2 separate regions of the Homo sapiens genome follow, and region 1 is linked to region 2. The links are contacts of gene promoters, found by promoter capture Hi-C in blood cells and fetal thymus (Javierre and others, 2016). All regions are on one chromosome and are shown on one strand. The core of a region is centred on a gene start or on the middle of the fragment in contact, and the rest is flanking DNA. Distances in the headings are between cores, read along the strand shown. Region 1 has its middle 6.5 kb from the start of TM4SF4. Region 2 holds the start of HPS3 (HPS3 biogenesis of lysosomal organelles complex 2 subunit 1).

The links. Contacts are between HindIII fragments. The CHiCAGO score rates a contact against its expected background, and 5 or more counts as called.
Region 1: a fragment that was not itself captured here is called in contact with the fragment with the promoter of HPS3 in region 2 in 1 of 17 cell types (M1 macrophages); the score reaches 6.5 in M1 macrophages.

The regions. Positions count from the first base shown.
Region 1 is chr3:149,464,689-149,471,743 of GRCh38, reverse strand. No RefSeq gene overlaps it. Among named protein-coding and RNA genes, the nearest start is that of TM4SF4, 6.5 kb to the left of the region's middle. The HindIII fragment of the contact is 764 bases long and covers 4,090-4,853 here.
Region 2 is chr3:149,126,998-149,134,336 of GRCh38, reverse strand. It overlaps HPS3 (HPS3 biogenesis of lysosomal organelles complex 2 subunit 1), which reads right to left and starts at 4,699. Exons shown (of 17, transcript NM_032383.5): 1 at 4,397-4,699. The coding sequence starts at 4,613. RefSeq lists enhancers at 4,158-4,657, 4,439-4,698. The HindIII fragment of the contact is 10,979 bases long and covers 2,600-7,339 here.

The DNA.
Region 1 (7,055 bases), core at 3,222-5,721, 340 kb before region 2:
ATGGACCTCACCGGATGTGAGGTTTGACCATACGGGACTAAGCAGCAGGAAGTCTAGGGGTTCCTTCCAGTGATGCAGGAAGTCAATTCCTCAGCTAACAAGCACAGGAGCAGAAGACATTCACCCTGAAATGGGTGAAGAGCTGTCAATTCAGTGCAATCGATAAGTGTATTGTTACATGCATGGTATGTCCACCAATGTGCCAAATACTGTCCTTGTGAATAAAATAAATCTAAGACTTGCTTTCTGCCCTCAATGATGTTACAACCTTCTACTTGTGACAAGAGACAAGAGAAGCCATACACAGAGGTTAAATGAGTAACTGCCCCTTAGCAGAAGAACAAGACATGGCTTCTTCTGCTTGTCTTAAAGCAGAGCATTCTCATCTATTCACACAGAATATCAGGAAGAAGACAGGGGTCTCCACACATTTGCATTCAAATAAAATTCAGGTCTTCATCTTTGCTTACCTGGATGATGAAAATAGATTGTTAAAAGTGATTTTCCAAAGGAGGAAAAAAATAATAGAAAATATTAGTGGGCATTGCATGTAATAAGAGCCATTTTATGAAATTTTTGTTATGTGTGCATAGATGTTAGGTAATAATGCAACATGTTTTGCTTACTATAGGTCTTCAATCAAAAAATAAAGATCAAATCAGGTAGTGAAAGTTAGTGATCTTTATAAAGTGAGAACTAGTGATCTCTATAAATGCTAAACTGATATTACATTTTTGCTGAAAGCCTTCAGGAGGCTTCCATGGCCCTCAGATCTTAAACTTAGTCCTCCCTGATTTGTCTTCCAGCCAGATCAGCCCTCCTGTCTTCCTGCTTCCTGCTCTGCCCGCTTCTCCTGCTTTCCTGCTACACCCCTCCAGGACTCAGCTCAGTGGTCACTTTTTCTAAGAAGTCTTGTTTTATAAGAAAACTGTTTTACTGTCAAGATATGTTTGGGAAATCTGAATAACACAGAGCAAAATAGGGCTCTGAATGAGAACTTTTTAGGGCCTTTAATTTGCAAGTGCATGTGTAATTATTGGAGAGCTGAGAAATATAGTACCCAGCGTTTTCCAAGCTTCAATGCCTGCAGAACCCATCTTTTGTATCCTGTAGCTGGCAGGACCAGGATTTTCCAGAACATCCTTTGGAAAACTTGGAGCTTACTCATTTCCCAAGTGCTTGTGATGGAATCTGTGTTGGCAGAGAGAAAGTGAGGGGTGATTTGAGACAAGGAAGTATAACAAGAGCAAAGATGGAAGATGGGATGAAGCACGATTTGGGGAGATTGTGAGGTGCCAAGTTGGTGAGCTGGGAGCAGGGTTGAGAGCCAACTTGGCCTCCACGAACAAAGAAATGTGAAATATTTTGTCTAAGGGAAGACAGTCACTATTCTCTAAGAGCTCTGACGCTTCATGACTGACTCCTCCATGCCTGGGCCACTTCAACATGAGTGTTCCCTAAAGCACCGGGGTCCTGGGAGAGGCTGAACTACTAAAGGGCCACATGGTCTGGAGAACTAGAAGAAACAGACCTCCCTCTCAGATGTCTCTATCTCACTATCTAGAGTTGTCATCGAGCTCTATAGAAGCAAGCAATTACATGACATTATTGTCCCTATTTTAGAGATGAGGAAACAAAAACAAGTGGTAAACACTGTTCTGGTTATCTTTTTTTTTTTTTGGAACCGGGTATCACTCTGTCACCCAGACTGGAGTGCAGTGGCACAATCTCAGCTCACCAAAGCCTTCACTGCCTGAGCTCAAGCGATCCTCCTGCCTTATCCTCCTGAGGGACCACAGGCACATGCCACCATACCAGGCTAATTTTCTTTTTTTTGAGACAGAGTCTCACTCTGTTGCCCAGGCTGGAGTGCAGTGGCACAATCTCAGCTCACTGCAGCCTCTGCTTCCCAGGTTCAAGCAATTCTTCTGCCTCAGCCTCCCGAGTAGCTGAGAACACAGGCATGTGCCACCATGCCCAGCTAATTTTTGTATTTCTAGTAGAGACGGGGTTTCACCATTTTGGCCAGGCTGGTCTCAAACTCCTGGGCTCAAGCAATCCTCCTGCCTCTGCCTCTCAAATTGTTGGGATACAGGTGTAAGCCACCACATCAGGCCACTGGTTATCTTTTGATGTATAATAAACCAACTCAAAACTGTGTATTTAAAACAATAATCATTTTACTTTATCTCAGGATTTTGTGGGTCAGGAAGATGGGTTGAGACAAACTGGGTGATTATTCTGCTCCAAGTAGTATTGATTGCGGTTATTTGCTGTTGTTCAGTTGTGGCCACATTGGTGTGCAGAATCCAAGGTGGTTTCACTTATATATCAAGGTGGCTTGATGGGAACAGCTATAACACTGGGCTCATATAAAGCTGGGCCCCTCTTTTTCTTCCTTTAGTCTCAGGGCTCTCCATGTGGTTTCTGCAACACTGTAGTTAGACTTTTACATGGTAACATAAGGCTCTGAGATATAAGTAGAAGCTGCCATTGTCTTAAGGCCTGGGCCAGAAAATGGGACAGGGTCACTTTGGCCAATTTTATTGGTCAGTGTAGTCAGAATGATCTCAAATTCAAGGGGAGGGAACATAGACCTCACCTCTTTATGAAAGAAATGTCAGAGAATTTCTGGCCAGCTTTAATTCACCACAGAGATAAAGGTAGATTTAAACCAAAGGAGTCTGATTATAGAGACCATCCTCTTAATCACCACAATATCCTGCTTCAGAAACCAAAGACTGGTACCTATTGTTTGCTCAACACAGAGAGGACAGCCTGCATGCATTTAGGTTTAAATCAAGGGCCTTTCTCTGCTACAGGGTAAATTATCTGGATAATTCCCACAATTGTGTATGGGTAGACACAGCCTGAGTTAGGATTTGCACTTGAGGAGCTAGCAGGCACCATCTACACCTTAAAAGTATCTCCAGTTGTTTTCAAAATTAGAATGAGAAATGCAAATCTCTTCCTGCCTCATGACTCAAAGGGGTGCTATATAGTCCTCTCTAATGCAGGTCTCAGTACAAAAGGGCACAGCTGTGACCTCTCAGAGAGGCATGAGCTCTGGCTGGTAAATCTGTCCCAGATGACCTGCCCAAATATTGATTTGTTTTAGCATTCTTTGATATCATCATGGTTATAGGTGAGAAGTTAACTTTCAACAGGAACTCACCCCTCACCCACTCTCCGTAAGGTAAAACATCACTAACTGCGGTTCCTCATCTTCTTTTTAAAATTAAACATGGGTTCAAAAAGAAACCAAGTTTAAAAATTCATGTTATGGCTTTAAAATGCAGAGAAATTTTAACACTGCATGTGTTTTTAATTTCTATAAATCTGACTTTATATAATTATGTATTATTCTTTTTGTCTGTGCCTTTGTACAAGTGTTTCCCCATTAGTTTTTAAAAATTATTTTTCCAAATAATTTTTGCTTATAAAAATTTACAAACATATTGGGAAATGATAACAACACCAAGACAGCAAGCACAATTTGGAAAAAAAAAAAAACATCAAAAACAACTGTCTTAAAATTTCATGTCAGTGAACTTTCATGGGGGTCAATTTTAGCTTTTGTATATTTATTCTTTTAGCACATTTTTTGAGCACTGATGTGTCAGGTACTGGAGACGTGTTAAATGGACAGAGCTTATAAGAAAAGGAAGATAGATATTAATAATGCTAATAACAGAAAACAGAGCAATTGTATGAAGTTGGTTCTATTTTAATCTGAATTTTACTCATAAGGAAACTGTATCCCAGAGAGATTAAGTAACTTTCCCAAGATCTCATCACTAGTAGCAGGAGACAGGATTTGATCTCAAGCAATCTAGTTTAAAAAAAAAAAGTCTGTGCTCTTAACCTCTACGCATGTTGCCTTTCATTAATCAAACCGTCTCAAAAACATATAATAACAAACTATAATTTGTTCCATGGACTAGAGAGAGCTATGAAAGCATATAGGGTAACAGGGGGATTCCAGTCAGGATAGGGAAGGCTCCCCTGAATAGGCTCCTTTGAAACTATTCATTGCCAAGAATAGAATTTTGATAAAATTACATTATGTAGTAATATTTACTGTAAGCTTGTTACATGCTAGGTATAACTTTAATGCTTTTCAATATTAACTCACAATGTCCCTCTGAGATGGGTGATAGTAACCCAGTAACCTCCCTCTTTGCTATATGGAAGGAAGTTGAGGCTCAGGGGGTAAAGAGTTTGCTCAAAACCACACAGCTAGAAAGCAAGTCAGCACTTGAACCCAAGCCCACACTCTTTAGACTGAGTGCGTGTCTTATGAAAGAAAAGAGCAATGCCAACGAGTTGGAAGGGACATGTTGTCCCACTGCTCAAAGATGCTCTCACTGACTCTAACTATGGATTTCTAGTTGCCAAAGGACTGAGCAAAGAGAGCAAAAATTATGGATAAGACCAAATTCTAAGGCGGTAAAAACATTAAAACTAAGTTTTAAAAGGAAGTAACTCAGTGTAGTAATTGGTAGGATGTGTGACTGCTCTAAGTGCACCTGAGCTACCCTGCCACTGACAGTGGTGGAGAGTCCAGAAGCAAGGTCAAATGATAAACTCCCTTGCTTAAAATTGAATAATCAGTTCCAATTCACAGAATGTCAAAGTTAGATAAACCTTTTCCCTTTTATAGGTTTTCAAGACTGAACTGCAATTGCAAAAATAATTCCTACTTGCAATAACTACTGTGATTAAACCTAAAGGGTAGAGAAATGCATCCAGGTCTTTGGTGGTCTTCACAGTGTGAGGCACAATGTAGAGGCCCAATTTATTTTTAAATTGACATTAGCTTTTCTGTGATTACCCATATGTATATCAAAGCTTCTAGCAAAGTTACAGACCAAGGCTTCTCAAATTTTAATGTGCATGTAAATCATCTGCAATCTTGTTAAAATACAGATTCTGATTTAGAAAGTCTGGGACAGGGCCTTAGATTTTGAATTTCTAACAAGCTTCAGGTGATTCTGGCAGTCGGAGGGCCATACATTGAGGCTGGACACATTTATTACTCTGCTTACTTTGGGGCAAATGGATGCCCTTCCTTAGACTTCCCACTGGAGCAGCTCATTGTGGGGTGTTTCAAGTAGTTGCTACTTGCTCTAACAAACTTTTGTTCTTGGGACAGTCACTTGCCAGCTTAGGGATTTCAGAAGGCTCTAGGGTCGGAAGAGACCCCACATCACTCTAGCTTGCTGTTTTCTGCATGCTTTATGGTGGTGGTTGTCAAAGTATGAATCGGTTAAAAGCTTGGGCTGCCTTTCTTTAGATGGGCCTGCTTCTCAACAGTCATCTTCCCCTCTTACTCACTCCCTACTGCATTCCGCAACTGTTATTCCAACCCTTTTCCACATTCCTCAAACCCTCCCTCCTCCCTCGCCCCAACTCCTTTGAGAGTTATAACCTCTCCTCCCACTTGCAGAAATGAAGGCCCAAGTTCCTTCATCCATCTTCCTTTCAGCCTTATAATATTTTTATATGAACACTTTCCTCTTTCATCCACATTTTATTCTTATCTTCATCCATTTTTATTATCTTTCCCCTGTCAGCAGATTAATTCCCTCACTGGTGCTTTTGTTCCCATCTCTAAACCTTCCCTGAGACTGTACCACCAATTATCATTATTCTGTCTTAAAGATTTAGTATCCTCTCTTACCTATCTCTTCATTCTCTTCACACAGTCTCAGTTCTCACTTTGCCTTTCCTAAATTTTTATTAAAGAAGTTAAAAAATACCCACTAGGTATAGAGAATTGTATAATGAACTCCCATTTACCCATCAAACAACCAGAAATAATCAAATTTTTCCATTTTTGAATTCTGTCTTGGAAACATCTTCCCTTGACCCTGCTCCTTTCTCCTCTTGACCAAGCCTGTCTCTCCAGTTCCCAGCCCCCTCTGATTTGTTAACCTCTTGCCATCTGGTTCCTGTCCCAGTCTCACTATGGCAAGTTCATCAGTGCCATTACCCGTTACTGAACCCCGTGGCCATGTCTCAGGCTTCATTCTCCTTTGACCTCCTTGCAGCGTTCCACTATTTCTGAGTCTCTTCCCACTGAGCAGCTGGAAGCACACTGGCTATCTGCGGAAGGACTTTGGAAGCCAGCACTCTGAAGCTTGTTCCCTCTCCTCCTCCCTTCTTCCCGGGACTTTCAGGGCTGTATCTGTTTTTCAAACTTATCACCATGTCAGAACCTCTAATCTTACCTCTGGGCCAGAAATGGAGATGGGACACTCCTTAAAAACGGTGACAGTATCTTATAGAAAGGTAAAGTCCTTAACTGTACCTAGCACGGTGCCTCCACTTAATCAAGGCACCATAAAATACGCGCTGATAATAGTGATGATGACGATAATGACTGCCACCGACATACAACTGTTAAACCAGACTATGGAAAATACAAGACAGGGGAGTGAGCTGGAAGTCACCCTGCCTGCCCACTTCCACACTGCACGGGCGGACCCTCAAGCACTGGAAGAGAAGTTCCGGGGCTGGGCTGGCCTGGCAGTAGGCGGCGGAATGGAGACACGGACCCAGGACCGGGCCTGACTCCGGCCCCACGCTGTCCTCTTCCTGGGATGCCGCAGGGCGGGGCCCTGACCCACAGCCTCCTTCTCACTCGGGCAGTCTCAGAGCCCGCGACTTCGAAAGTGAGGAGCTGCTGGCGCCGCGTGCTGCAGGCCAGGATCTGGTGAGTTTGAAGAGAGGCCCGGACAACCAACATGAAAACCCCTGCTTCCTTTTCCTGAAGTGTAACCCTGACGGAGGTGAAGAAATAGCTTCTATTGGCATTTTAAGTTCAGCAAGAAATACGGAAGTGTACCCAGGAGAGGAGTACTGTGGAACCAGCAGGGGCAAGAATGTTTATACTGTCCTGGATTACAGGACTGTGAGGACGTGGGAAATTGAAAACCCAAAGAAACAAAAAAAGTGTGTTTAAACCACGGACGATGCAGAACAAAAAAATGTCATTCCCACAACGTGCACATATAGTAGAGATGGAAATCTCATAGCAGCCGCCTGCCAGA
Region 2 (7,339 bases), core at 3,450-5,949:
TTACTCAGTAGAACTCTTGAAAGTGAGAACTCTTATGCCTTAAAAGGAGTGACGTAGAGAAAACTACCAATATTTTAACAGGTATGACCATTAAAGACAGATTTTATAATACCAAAATTGGAATATTCCTGCTGAAAGGGAACTTAAAGAGTTAATGAGAGGTTTTTCAAACAGGTCCGTGGCCCAGTGCAGGCCCCTGCTAATGTTGTCATTAGGCAAAAACAAAAACAAAAAACCAATGACAGCAGAGTAAGTTGTTCACAAAGCTAAAGATATCCAATGTTTGATGCTAAGTGTTTTTTCTTTTATAAATAATGACAGTAAATAGTAAGGCTTTTCATTTTTTTTAAAAAAAAACACAGGCATATCCCAGAGATATTGGAGGATTGCTTCCAGACCACCGCAATAAAGCAAATAATGCAATAAAAAGAGTCACATAAATTTTTTGGTTTCCCAGTGCATAAAAAAGTTATGTTTGTACTAGATTATAGTCTATTAGGTGTGAAATTGCATTATACCTAAAAAACAAACAAACAAAAAAACAAAGCAATGTACATACCTTAACTAAAAATATTTTATTGCTAAAAAAAATGCTAACGATCATCCAAGCCTTTAACGAGACATATCTTTTCACTGGTGAAGGGTCTTGCCCCGATGCTGATGGCTGCTGACTGATCAGGGTGGTGGTCACTGGAGGCTGGGGTGGCTGTGGCAAATCCTTAAAATAAGACAACAATGGGCCGGGCACAGTGGCTCACACCTGTAATGCCAGCACTTTGTGAGGCCAAGGCGGGTGGATCACCTGAGGTCGGGAGTTTGAGACCAGCCTGACCAACCATGGAGAAACCCCATCTCTACTAAAAATACAAAATTCGCCACAAGTGGTAGCGCATGCCTGTAACCCCAGCTACTTGGGAGGCTGAGGCTGGGAATTGCTTAAACCTGGGAGGTGGAGGTTGTGGTGAGCCGAGTTCACGCCACTGCACTCCAGCCTGGCCAACAAGAGTGAAGCTCTGTCTCAAAAAAATAAAATAAAATAAAATAAAATAAAAAAATAAAACAATTAAGTTTGCTCCATCAATTGACTCTTCCTTTCACAAAAGATTTCTCTGGAGCATGCAATGCTATTTGATAGCATTTTACCCACAGCAGAACTTCAAAATTGGAGTTAATCTTTTCAAACCTTCTCATTGCTTTATCAACTAAGTTTATGAAATATTCTAAATCTTCGTTGTCTTTTGAACAATGTTCCCAGCATCTTCAATAGAAACAATTCCATCTCAAGAAACCACTTTCTTTGTTCATCCATGAGAAGCAACTCCTCACCCATTCAAGTTTGATCATAAGATTGCAGGAATTCCAACACATCTTCAGGCTCCACTTCCAATTCTAGCTTTCTTGCTATTTCCACTACATCTACTGTTATTTCATCCACCTAAGTCTTGAACCCCTCAAAGTCATCCATGAGAGTTGGAATCAACTACTTCCAAACTCCTGTTAATGTTGGTATCTGATCTCCTTCCATGAATCCTGAATGTTTTTAATGGCATCTAGAAAGAGTGAATTCTTTCCAGATGATTTTCAATTTATTTTGCCCAGATCCATCAGAAGAATCACTTATCTGTGGCAGTTATAGCCTTACCAAATGTATTTCTTTAATAATGAGACTTGAAAGTCAAAATTACTACTTGATCCATGGGCTGCGGAATGGATGCTGTGTTAGCAGGCATAAAAACAACATCAATCTCCTTCTACATCTCCATCAGAGGTCTTGAGGGACTAGGTGCATTGTCAATGTGCAGTAATCTTTTGAAAAGAATATTGTTTTCTGAGCAGTAGATCAAAACAGTGGGCTTAAAATATTCAGTAAACAATGTTGTAACAGCTGTGCTGTCACCCAGGCTTTTTTCATTCTAAAGCACAGGCAGAGTAGATTTAGCATAATTTTTAAAAGGGCCCTATGATTTTCAGAATGGTAAATGAGAACTGGCCTCAATTTAGTCACCAGCTGCATCACCCCCTAACAAGAGTCAGCCTGTTCTTTGAAGCCAGGCATTATCTTCTCCTCTCTAGCCAAGAAAGTCCTAGATGGCATCTTCTTCCAATTTAAGACTGTTTTGTCTACACTGAAAAAATCTGTTGTTTAGCACAGCTGCCTCCATAAACTCATCTTAGCTATATCTTCTGGACTTCTGGATAACTTGCTGCAGATTCTACATCATCACTTGCTGTTTCACCTTGCACTTTTATATTATGGAGACAGCTTCTTCCCTTAAACCTCATGAGCTGAACTCTGCTAGCTTTAAACTTTTATTCTGCTGCTTCCTCACCTCTCTCAGCATTCACAGAGTTGAACAGAGGGCCTTGCTCTGTATTAAGCCTGGGCTTAAGGGAGTATTTTGGCTGGCTTGATCTTCTACCTAGAGCAAAGTTTTTTTCCTATCAGCAATAAGGCTTTCTAATCATTTGTGTTCACTGGAGTAACACTTAATTTCAAGAACTTTTCCTTTGCAGTCACAACTTGGCTAAGTGTTTGGTCCAAGAGGCCTACCGTGCAGCCTATCTCAGCTTCTGACACGCCTGCCTTCCTCACTAAGCTTAATCATTTCTAGCTTTTGATTTAAAGTGAGAGACGTCCAAGTGTCACTTGAACATTTAGAAGACATTGTAGGGTTATTAATTGGCCTGATTTCAATATTGTTGTGTCTCAGGGCCTAGGGCAGCCTGAGCAGGCAGAGACGATCAGAGCAGTAATCAGAACATACACAACACATATCAATTAAGTTCACCATCTCACATGGGCACAGTTCATGGCACCCCAAAACTACTACAATAGTAACATCAAAGATTGCTGATCACCGTAATAGATACAATAATTATGATAAAGTTTGAAATATTGCCAAGAACTATCAAAATGTGACTCAAGAGACATGTAGTGAGCACATGCAGTGTGAAAAATGGAACTGGTAGATTTGCTCCACACAGAGTTGCCACAAACTTTCAATTGGGGAGAAAAAAACACGCAGTATCGGCAAAGTACAACAAAGTGAAATGCAAAAAAAACAAGGTATGCCTGTATATGTCTTTACTTGACAAAATAAGCAGTCAGATACTATGTATGGTAACCCCACAGTTTTTAATTGAGCCACGAAATCCCAGGGTCTGGATATCACTGATCTATTTATTCAACTTTTTGTTTTTTTTTTTTTTTTTTAACATAAACTCAGACCCCAAGGTTTCTATAAACTCACACCGAACCAGCTGCGGGGTAGGGATTAGAGAGAGATCTCCAATCTTCCAGGTTCAAGTTCTCCACTTCATTAATAGCATAGCCACCAGCTTTTGCAACGTAAATACTGAACTTTACACCCATCTTGTAAAGTATGAATCGAAGGTAAGTGTATTAAAGGAATTATATGGTAAATTCTTCTGTAATCTAAAAGGGATCTAGTTTTAAATGTTGGATTTTTCTAAAATAGGATTCACCCACACAGTATTTCCTTGGTATTGCTTCACATTTCTGGTGTGAAAGAGTAACGGCTGCTCTTACAACTGTTTGTTTTTGTTTGTTTTGGGACGGAGTCTCACTCTGTCGCCTAAACTGGAGTGCAATGGGGCAATCTCCGCCTCCCCGGTTCAAGCGATTCTCCTGCCTCAGCCTCCCAAGTAGCTGAGACTACAGGCGCCCACCACCACGTCCGGCTAATTTTTGTATTTTTAGTACAGACGGGGTTTCAATAAATTGACCAGGCTGGTCTCGAACTCCTAACATCGTGATCCGCCTGCCTCAGCCTCCCAAAGTGTTGGGATTACAGGCGTGAGCCACTGCGCCCGGCCACAGATGTTTAAGAGAAGAGAGGGGGGCAGTCTGAGTTCTACTTACACACATTTAAAAATCAACACATAATGTGAGCTTTCAAAAACCGACCGGAAGTAGATGGAGGTACAGATGTGAAAGAACTGCCAAGAGTTGGAATAATTGTTAAAGCTGGGAGTACTTGGAGGTTCCGGGATACAGTACTAGTCTCCTTATTCCTACTTGTTTTTTTGGTAAGTCTTTGAAATCTGATGCACTAAAGAGTTTTTTGTTGTTGTTTGCTTAAGTATCCGAGATGAGTGGAATCCAGCCAGAGGCCTTTCTGCAGAAAACCAAGACGAAGAGATGTCAGCGTCTCCGCCCCGACAGAAGCAAGCTCATACCTATGCTTGCCGCGACAACCGCATAGCTCAATGCGACTTCAAGCAATCAGCGGCCAGACCCAGGGAGACCATCCGGCAAATTCCGGGAAGCAAGAAGTCCCATCCCTAGCTAGAGCTACAGCCCAGACGTTCGGTCCGCTAGCTAGGAGGCCTCAAGCTGGACCCCAGGCGGCCCCTGGCTCTCTAGATTACTCACCAGCCTCGCTGTAGGCCAGGCGCAACACCCGGCCCAGCGTGGAGAAGGCGCACCGCGGCTGGCACAGCTCCTGGCCGGCCACCGCGAACGCCTCCACCTTGCAGCCCGCCGCCACGAAAAGCGCGTCACGCCCCCCGCCACAGAACCGGTCCGGCTCCAGCTTGCAGGGCACCACCTGCTGCGACCCGAACGGGTGCAGGTTGTACAGCTGCACCATCCCGACGTCCGGCGGGATGGCACAGCCTGCCCGCCCTGCAGGGCGCCCGGAGACCCCGCGCTGACCGCGAATGTAGGACTACTTCCGCGAGCGAGCCAATGACGCCGGGTCACGTGAACGCCAGCCGGCCCCGCCCGCGGCTCCGCTACTTAAAGAGGCCGCCGCGGGGCGTGGCAGGCGTCGGGAAAGCGGTCACGCCAGCCTGGTCAGCCCGCGCTCTGGCGCTGCAGTGCTTTCGGTCTCTGCGCCTCCCACTCCGCCGCGCGAGCTTGCCACTGCTCTATGCTCAGTGGCCGGTGGGTGCGGGGACCGCTGGGTCCCTGCCTTTCGTCTTTTACTGCTTTGGGCCAGGCGGTATGTTTTGGCTTTTGAGTACGTTCTGACAATTCATCATCTATCTTGTAACATTTTGTACTTACTTTGAGGAGCGTTATTCATGTCTCTTCAGTAGTCCCTGAGCTTCTGGAGGATGGGGTTGCAAAAACTGAAATGGGGTGCAACTCGGGGCTAAACACTCTGAAGAGTTGCTTTAAAATAATGGAAATTCTAGAATAGTTCAGCTGGAAAGAGCAAAGCCTTGAACGTGCTTGGCAAAAAGATATTTGTTGAAAGAAAGAATCCATGGACTTCATCTTGTAGGCATTTGACAAAAGACTAGTTTGAGCCCCAGAGGATAGAAGAACTAGGAGGGAAATCCCCTGGCTTTCAGTCCAGTGCTCCTAAAACTATGCAGTAAATTATCTATTCCTGACATCTCAACGTGGAGTTCACGATCGCAACACTTTCCCTTTTCTAAAAAAATCAGATTTAGATAAAACAAGTAGTATAACTTTGTCCAGTTCACCTAGAAAATATATGTGTTAGCATGGATTGAGGGATGCTGTTTTATTTAGGCACACAGGGACATAAATGAAAGTGCAACATTTTCTTCAGTCAGTTTCCAGTTCAGAATTTGTAAATTAGATGCAATTGGATTGAAGTTAAACTTGCCTCCCTTTCCTAGGCCCTTCAGATGAATAAAGTACCTCTAAGTAATGGGAAACAACAGGTTCGTCAAACTCAGTGAGTTAGAGAAGTAAACATGGAGGTAGCTCAGGTCAGGAACTAGGGCTGCAAAAAATCACAGAAGGCTCCTATGGAAAACAACCAGACTAATAGTCCACAAGTTATTTGTTCTAGATACAAAACTTAAGAGCAAATATCAAAATCAATAGTAAAAAAGATTCCTTTCCACAAGTATCTGCCATATTATTCTTTTTGGCTTAATTTTCTTCTTCAAGACTTAATTATCCTAATTCAATTTTCTCCTAATGAAGACTGATATTAACTTTAGTGTAATTTCACCTGCATAAAAAGAATGTCTGTTTTGGAGAAAGAAGTGAGATTTGCTCAAAACCTGGAACCCCATTCCTTCCTAGAGATAGTGTCTTCTTCCTTGCTGTAGTCACTGCACCTGACTCATCTAAGATTCTTTGGGAAGAGACATGCTACCCAAGGGAAGGTGGGGCATGTGTCTGGTTTCCACGTTTGTCAGGAGCTGTGAGCAGGAGCTGCCCACTTGTATTCCTGTTACGAATGCAGGGGCAGCAATGGCACACCATCAATTCCTTGCGGGAGGTTGCATTTGTTTGCAAGGGCTGCCATAACAAAACACCACAGACTGGGTGGCTTACACAATAGATATTTCATTTTCACAGGTCTGGAGGCTAGAAGTCCAAGATAAGATGTCAGCAGGTATGGTTTCTCCTGAAGCCCCTTCTCCTTGGCTTGAAGATGACTACCTTTTTATTATGTGTTCCTATGGTCTTTCCTCTGTGTGCCTGCATCCCTGGTGTCCTTCCCTTGTCTTATAAAGATACCAGCCATATTAGATTAGGACCCACCCTTATGATCTTATTTAACCTTAATTATTTCTTAAAGGCCCTATCTCTATATACAGTCACATTCTGAGGTATTGGAGGTTACAGATTCAACATATGAATTTGGGGGGAAGACACAATTTAGCCCATAGCACATGCACTTAGGGTAGCACTCTGTTGAAAAGGGTTGTCTTGAGAACTTTCTTCCTTCCTTCCCTCCTTTCTCTCTCTTTCTTTCTTTTCTTTCTTATTTAAAGAGATGGGGTTTCGCTCTGTCACCCAGGCTGGAGTGCAGCAGTGTGATCATGGCTCACTGTACCCTTGACCACCTGAGCTCGAGCAATCCTCCCATCCCAGCCTCCAGATTAGCAGGAACTATAGGCACATACCACCATGCCTGGCTAATTTTTAAAATTTTTGTAGAGATAGGGTCTCACTATATTGCCCAGGCTGATCTTGAACTCCTGGACTCAAGCGATACTCTCACCTCAGCCTCCCAAAGTGCTAGGATTACAGGCATGAGTCACTGCACCTGGCCCTAGAACTTCTTTAAGCTGTATTTGCTGGGGAGATTGAGGGTGCTATGTGGGTAAAAAGCTCCCCCAAGTTTCTTCTAGGTGACAACACCACTGGGGATGGCTACAAAAATGGTTCTGCAACAACATGGACAAAGAGCTCTACTCAACCAGCCTAGAAAAGAAGGATTCTGGATCTCTGGAGCACTGATTTCCTATCCCATCTGTGAGGTACCTCGGGATATCTGCATTGGTCTTAGAGAATGTGTTGAGAAAGTCACTCACAAAATACCATTTACTTCTCATTTTTTATTTCTTTATTTCCTCAAAGTTCTTTCTGGAAAAGTCACAA